2 separate regions of the Homo sapiens genome follow, and region 2 is linked to region 1. Evidence: promoter capture Hi-C in human tissues and cell types (Jung and others, 2019). All regions are on one chromosome and are shown on one strand. Each heading gives the region's core, a stretch centred on a gene start or on the middle of the fragment in contact. The rest is flanking DNA. Distances are from core to core; before and after follow the strand shown.

Region 1 (4,049 bases), core at 312-2,811:
TAAGCCACTAAGTTTGTGGTGATTTGCTGGCAATAAGAAACTGATACAGAGACCAAGTAACAGAGGCCATTACACACTTTGCGCTGAGGGCAGTTGGGAGTTTAAAGTGAGGAAGAGAAATGGTCAGTTTGCCATCAAAGATCAAATTGATACAAGATGGATTTTTGGGGTAGATGGTGGCAGGGAGATGTTATAAGGCTGTGGCAATGGTGCAAACAAACAAACAAACAAAAAATGATTAGCGGCTTAACCGGGAGAGTAAAGTAGGAGTAGATAGAATCGGGCAAATTAATTTTAGTGATAAAATTAGTGGGACTTGGGGACCAACTAAACATGGGAGATAAGGGGAAAAAGAAGTATCTAGAAGCATTCCTTAGTTTCTGGCTTGGGTAGACTTTGGTATTGTCACTGAGATAGGAAATGCAGGAAGAAGCCTTTGTTTTTTTTTCCTGTTTTGGTGAAAGTTGTGTGTTGAGATTTGAGTAGATTGAATTTAAGACAATTGTGGGATATCCATATGGAAGCTGGCAATAGACTATATCCCAAGCTTAGATTTCAAATTTAAGAGTCCTAAGCACATGTGTGGAATTACAACAAAGAGAGCAGAGTGCACTGATTAAGAAAACAGCCTCAGGAGCCACCATTTAACAGCAATTGTCAGTCTTCCTCAATCTTTGAAAAATAAAGAGTAATTATTGATAAGGCTACTAAAATAAATAAATGTTTAAAAGGGTGTTTGGCACAGTATATGGAAGTTAGTAGATTCTGAAGAAATGGTAACTGTTATTACTAGTCGGGCCAGAAATAAAAGAGAACAGCAGTGGACCAAAGAAAGTATGAAGTTAAGTCTAAACAACAGGTGGGTTAGACACATACTGTCTCTGCCCTCAGAATACTCCCAGTCTAGTTAGCTTCTTACAGTCAGGGGCCATATTTTACTCACGGCTGTGTCCTGCCCAGTGCTTAGCTCAATGACTGGCCCAGAAGCGTCAAGCACTTTATAAATTTCGGCTGGATGGTTGAGGAGAAAGAGGGAAATAGGATCAAGCTGCAGGAGCAGAGAGGAGGCAGTGGGAGAGTGGTAAAGGGCGCTAGAAAGGAGAAGGAAACCTAGGGGACAGAAGAGGCAGGAGGAAGGCAATGAGCCCCTTAGGAAGCCAACGCGTCTGCCTTGTGGACCTGGTGTGGGAAGAAGCTGTGGGAGCCTGGGGATGGGGTGTGGTCTATATGGGGGAAGATGTAGAATGGGCAAAAACAATCACTCGGGAATTTTTATTGAACGGAACAGGGCTCCTTGGAAGCCAGGGGAAATTAACCAGTTACCCACCAACAAAGCTTATACGTTTTCGTTAGGATTGGCTAAGGCGTGATGGTTTCAGAGAAAGATGAAGTTTCAACTGTGGTCCTCTCAGATCAGGCCTCTCGGACCGATTTTCCCAGCTCTGCGGGCGCTCTACGCGCTGGCGCGAGCCGCCCCTCAGGAGGCCACCGCCCTTCTGGGGCCGCTACCATTGGAAGCCTGGAACGCGGGGGGCGGGGCTGAGGTCGTTGGGCTCTGGCCATTCCTGGTCAGGTCCGGACAGAGGGACAACGGGGTGCTAGAGAAGGAGAGCGGGGCGGGTGAGGAAGGGGCTGAGGGGGCTGTGCCGGCCATGGAGCTGTACCTCGGCGCCTGCTCCAAGCCTGCCAAAGTCGCCGTCACCAAGACGGTCGCCAGCGTCCTGGCCGCGGACACCCAGCAGTGCAGAGACGTGAGTGGCCGCAAGCTGGGCGGCGTCGCCCTCTGGCGGCCGCAGGCCTGCTGGGGAGCGGGGCAGGGATCGCCACACACGGGTCGCGAGGCTCCCAACTGTCCCCCGTCAGGAGGCTGCCCTCTTGCGGCGCCCGGGGGCGGTGGCGGTGGCTCGGACTGTACCGGCCGCAACTGGCAGGCGCGGGACGCCAGGAGAGCTGGTGACCAGGGAAAACGGGAGGACTTCAGGATGCCCCGAACCCTGATTGTATAATTCTTCGGAGTCTTTGGTTGCAATGGAAGTAGATTGGTCTAAACTAAACTAATACTGCCTAAAAGGAAAGACAAAACTCTCCAATTGTGTCTGACAGGGCGTGCACAAAACCCACTTTGCAGGGGTTGGACCGGCTCAGCTACTGGACCTACCTCTCGGGGTCAAGCTGCCTGTGATCCCAGGAAGCAATGCTGTATTCTATACTACGAATTTCGGTGAAAAGGTGAACAAGTTTTTATCGTCTTTCTTTCCTTTACCCTTTACTACTTGCTGTTTAACTCAAAGGCTGCATCATACAAAATTCATTAAAGGAATTTGCATCAACATTTACAGGAAAAAGAAAATCCCACATCTGACCGAAGGTATTGTTTAGAATGCATATGAAGCACTTTCATCTTAATGGTTTGGACATAATCATATTCCAGAAAGTTTAGATTCTTAGTCCTTAATTAACAATTCACGGTACCATATTAATATTCCTTATAATAAAACTTCATATATACTTATATAGTAAGATTTGATGTACTTAGAAACATGTTTAGAAGCTGAAAGGTTATTAGTGATAGCTGCCATTTAATGATATGTTACGATTTTAACTGACAGTATCTTGGACCAAACTCTCTTCACGGGAAACATTATTTTGTTTTGAGTTGAATTCTATTTTACACATAAAGAAAAAAAAAAGAACTGAAACAGTGGGACTTAAAATGAGTTAATATGTTTAGTACTTTAACCTTACTTTAATGAAAGAAAGCCCTGCCTCAATGAGGAAGAGACTCCATAATTTGCCCCAGCCTTTCCATCCAGCATTGTCTCCAACCAGAGAGGCTCAGCTTCTTCAAGTTGAGTCTTTCACACCTACCCATAAATACCATGCTAATACTTCAGTATTTTGTCAACTTTGCCCCCAAACCTGGCATACCTTGTCTTCTTCTCCCCAGTCTATGAATCTGAGCTATCAAGATTCTCTGAACTGTGATAGCCCCCCCGTTAGCTTATTTTTGCTTAGAGTTCACGTTGCCCTTGATTTGTGTGATCTCACTTACACAAACCATAGTTAATCATACTGGATTATAGTGTGTACTTCCCTTAAGCCTTTTCATGTTTTTAGTCCTTAACACCACACCTACCCCCAAACCTCCCCAGCCTTTGACTAAGTAGTCAATGCTGAAGGAGGTTTAGTACATTCTTGTTGACTGGTTGCTTTTATCAGTTTTGCAAAAAGTTCTACAAGAAAGAATTCTAAGTGGCCCACTTACCCTTCTAATGTCTATGATGTCATCAGAAATAAATAGAACCCCTTGGTATTTGATACTTGCTTAATGTCTTATACAGTTCAGGCTGTTATAACAATGTACCATAGACTGGGTGGCTTAGAAATAACGTAAATTTATTTATCATTGTTCTGGAGCTGGAAGTCCAAGATCAGGACACCAGCATGGTCAGATTCTCGTGGGGGTCCTTTGAAGTCCTTTCATTATTACCTCCCTGCATGGTAGAAAGAAGGCTGGAGAGTTCCCTGTGGTCTCTATAGGAACATTATCTCCCTTGATGAGGACTCCACCCTCATGACTTAATTATCCCCCAAGGCCCCAGCTCCTAATGCCATCACACTGAAGATTAGGATTGCATATGAATTTTGGGGGCATACAGTCAATCTAACACACTAAATAAACATGATTTCTTAAAACAAGTTTTGTTTCTGAAAAAAAGTATAATTGCTCTTTAAAAAAAACTAATCTGTTCTACTAGATTAGAGCAAGTGAACTACAAATATACCAACTTCACACAACTTGAGTCACATCCACACAAACTAACTTTGCAAAAACGTGCTTGAAATTTATTCCATTACAGGTGATATAATTCCTCTTTAGTGCATAAACTTAGAACTGTGGCTTTTGTCTCCTCCCTTAAATATATTATTTTACTCTATTGCCATTTTCTCTGTCGACCATTAATTCACTTGTCTACTACTTTTCAAAAAGATGTTCTATTTTTTATTACATTAATTCTCCCAAAATTTATTCATTTAATGAAATTAGT
Region 2 (3,871 bases), core at 686-3,185, 61 kb before region 1:
AGCATTATCTTTCTAGAACATGTAATAATAGGTATAGTATGACTAATACATTCATATGCAATTATTATAGAGTACAATTTTTACATTTAAACTGCTCCCAGATATAATAGCATACTTTTGTTACAGGCAAAATACTATTCATTCAAATGGTGTAATTCAACAATTCCCGAGGACCATCTAGACAACATGGCCCTATGCCTTAACAGCTTTCAATTTCCAGTGAAGATCTAAAATATACTGCTAATTTCCATAGATGTAAACCATTAACAACACACATGAAATAAAACAAAGTTAGATTTATTCATTTGCTGCAGGATGAGAGAATACCTAGCCATGAAACTGGATGGTGCCTCTGCAAGGAGCTAAGATGGTCTTGTTACAGGATGTGGCTTTAGCTGAGTGATTCTCGGGAGACATTCTCTGGAGAGATTCGCTGGAGTCTGTTGTGAATTGGGTGCTATTAGGAAGGGGAACAGTCTTCACAGTTTCCCTAAGCAGAAGCATGCTCCTCTTAATAAACCCAAACCTCTAAACTCTCACGATGTAAAAGTGCACAGACAGCATGCATTAAATTTCACACATTGGTGGTGTGGCTAAGGGTGATAGTGAGAGTTCCAATCCTATTTCTATCATCGACTACAAATCCTGTGCATTGTAACTATATGGTGCCTAGCCCTGTTTATATCAACTATAGGTTTAGTACATATACTACATTCTGGAAGACAGTACCCACAGGCTGTCATTCCTGAGCTGGCCACTTAGCCAAGGCCCTATTATTATACTATGTGGCTAGCTGCATCTGAATGATTCACTGTATGGAAATAGCCGTGGGTTGTTTGTTCATATGCCTATTGTCACACCTTCTTTGCAATGAAACCAGACATCTCACTGAAGGATGTCATACTGGTTTAGAGGCCATCTGTTAGCCTTCAGACAGTGGTACTGGCAGAATCACTCTAGGAAGAAGACAAAACTATGTCTGAAATATTTATCAGTTTCAGTAAGGATAAATTGCAGCCCCATTAGGGTGGAAGGAGATCAAATATAGTCAAACTTCCACCCAATGGCTGGCTAGTTCAGAAAATTTCATTGTTCTAACCAATTTTTTAGTGTACAAGTGTTTTTTTAATATCAAATTCAATCTCTAGATAAATCATTATAATTTCCCTTAAATTATAGACAACTTGATTGTATAAAAGTTTTTGCTTGTTTGTTCATTTTATAAATCCTCGTATTATGACTTATACAGACAATGCTTGACATGCTTGGACTTTCTGTTTTGTCCTGAACATCCCTCTTTATTAAATAACGAGTCATTTTATTCAAGGACAAAATTTACCATACAAGATTCTTTCTCATAGAATATTATTTATCTTTAAGCTTTCTTACCAAAAAATACCTCTTTATTTCTATAACTTTCTTTACATCTCTCTTATTTCCTGTTTCCTTTTACCTTGTTTTATGCATAACTTTTAAATAAGCTTTGAATTAGAAAAAAAAAATTCACTTTTTTAAAAGAACACTTTTTTTAGAAAGAATGTTTTCTTACAATATGTTTTTATTAAAAAATACCCAAATAATGAAGTATCAATTATTTAATTTAATATAACTTTAGATTCTAAATATGACAAGTTTCTCTACAAGTATTTATCCCATTATATTTACCTAATTATTTTATTTTAATTGTTTACCTAGATTTATGAAAACTGTGATAGTCATAATTTAAAGTTATGAAGCTGCCATAACAGAGACAGTGAAAAATATCTGACCTAACTGACTCCATCTTGCTTCTAACTTCCAAGCTGCCCTTTTTCATTCCTGGGAGTTGGCCCAACTAACTTTGGGAGGAACTTAGTTTATAGTTTACCTCTGAAACAAAGATGATAACAGTCCTTTCCCAAAACAAACCTCCTTCCTGCCTATGGACTAGACTGCTTAAAGCCACAAGATTAGAAGTTATGGTAATTTTACTAATTCAAGATGTAGCTATTGTCAGTAAACCAGTATCAATGTCTTATATGTTTAAAATTACACAAGCAAATATCATTCTGTTTTGGGCTGGGTTTATAGTTTTATAACCCCTATGCCAGATTTTGACACCTTATAGTATTTGGCGGGGATAAGTGTAAAATTTCTTGATAAATAAATGCAAACTAAAATGTATGTTGGCAATTCTTAAGACATTTCTAATATTACTTTACCAATAATTTTAAAGCTACCTTATTTAATAAAGATTTTACTTAAGACACATAGACTTAAAAAAGCATTTGACTAGTCTCCTTTTTTTCTGATAAAGTATTTAAGTGCTTTTATTTTTCTTTAAGCAAATTAAGTAGAGCTCTTTTATATATTTTTAGTAGTTGTGTATACAACACATAAATACATAGACGTATTAGGCATCCCGATAGAAGTACATCTTATAGATTTCTAAGATCCCCTTGTTTTTATTTTTCCTATCTTAGACTTGCAAACTCTTGATAACCTGTTTCATTACCCTGACAGTTGTCAGCTAAATAGCTCTAAATCTGCATATCGAAGGAAACAACTCTTAGATGAAAAATCAGGTAGCAAAATATACATCTCAAGGTATGGAGAGAAAAAGTCAGGTGGTGCTAGAGGGAGATTAAAGGTGGATACAAAATAAAACATAAAATTATAGAAACCTATTATAAGATTGAATAAGGAGGCCAATTTTATTTAGATAGGGACTACCAATCTTTTAACTGGATCTCTGAGGTCTGGGCAGAGACCACCCTGAATCCTGAGTCTTCAAAAGGGGAGAATTATTATGAGGCTAAATCACATGATGCTTTTACAGTGCACTTAAATTTTTATTTTTAAACAAAGACATTTCTAAATGTCTAAACTATACTCTTCCTTAAAAACCCAAGAGTAGCCTCTTTTGCAATAGCTATTTTAGTCAAAAATTCAGGTAACACAGTACAAAAGGAAGCACTTTAAGAGCTGAGACAAATTTGTCTGTTTACACTGTTGGGATTCCATAAGGAAAGACAGAGGTTTCTCCCCAAAAGGGAGCCTGGCGCCTTCTCCATTTTCTTTAAGGAACCTCAGGCTGTCATAAACTATTTGAGGTCCCTCATGCAGCAGAGGGTGCAAGAGAAAGGAGAGCCAGCAGAAGTAAATGAAGAAAACAGAATTCATTTAACTGGAAGAAAAAAAACTTTTGCTCAAAAAAAGACAAGGTCCTAGGAGAGAAAAAACAACAAACAACAACAAAAACATGAAGGCCTTTTAAATACAAACACACACAGGCATACATACAAACACACACACACACACACACACACACACATCTTGGATGTTAGCTTTTAATTAAGCTGACTTTTAACCATTGATCTCCTTTAACAAAAAATCTTTTAAAATTTCATTACCATATTTAAGCTAGGAAAAATTGCTGCTACTTCAGAAGTGTCAAGTATCAAACCATAAAGGACTTGACTTAGGAACTAAACCCAGGCTGTCATGGTGGAAAAAATGAAGGCAGAACCTTAGCTATGGAACTGCAGCATGGGGAGACTGCCATTGCTCTTTCAGTTTGGCCTGGCTAGCAGAAAGGTAGCCTTGTTATGTAAATAAAATAAAGCCCTTAAGGAGTCAAAATAAAAAAATATTTTCTTTTTTTTTGGCAATTTATCCACTTCAGAGGTCTTGTTTCCATAATTTGGAACTTTCCTTCATAATTGTTCAAATCAGATAAAGTTGGTCAAACCAGATGGGAAAAAGACCAAAAGAACAATAAAAACAGAAACAAAGGAACAACAACAACAAAAAGACCAGTTAAGCAAAACAAACAAATAATCACATAACTTATAGGATTATTGAACTCTCTAATGCTAAGGAGAACTTAATA

The links. Contacts are between HindIII fragments. The study calls those that stand out against the background at their distance.
Region 2: a contact is called between a fragment that was not itself captured here and the fragment with the promoter of FSIP2 in region 1, in 2 of the 25 tissues and cell types used here (aorta and mesendoderm cells).

What each region holds. Positions count from the first base shown.
Region 1 is chr2:185,737,243-185,741,291 of GRCh38, forward strand. FSIP2 (fibrous sheath interacting protein 2) reads left to right here and starts at 1,562. Exons shown (of 23, transcript NM_173651.4): 1 at 1,562-1,751; 2 at 2,104-2,229. The coding sequence starts at 1,653. FSIP2-AS2 (FSIP2 antisense RNA 2) reads right to left here and starts at 3,235. Exons shown (of 3, transcript NR_110217.1): 1 at 3,137-3,235. RefSeq lists a silencer at 1,694-1,963. The HindIII fragment of the contact is 10,800 bases long and covers 942-4,049 here.
Region 2 is chr2:185,675,720-185,679,590 of GRCh38, forward strand. No RefSeq gene overlaps it. Among named protein-coding and RNA genes, the nearest start is that of FSIP2, 61 kb to the right of the region's middle. The HindIII fragment of the contact is 6,612 bases long and covers 1-3,871 here.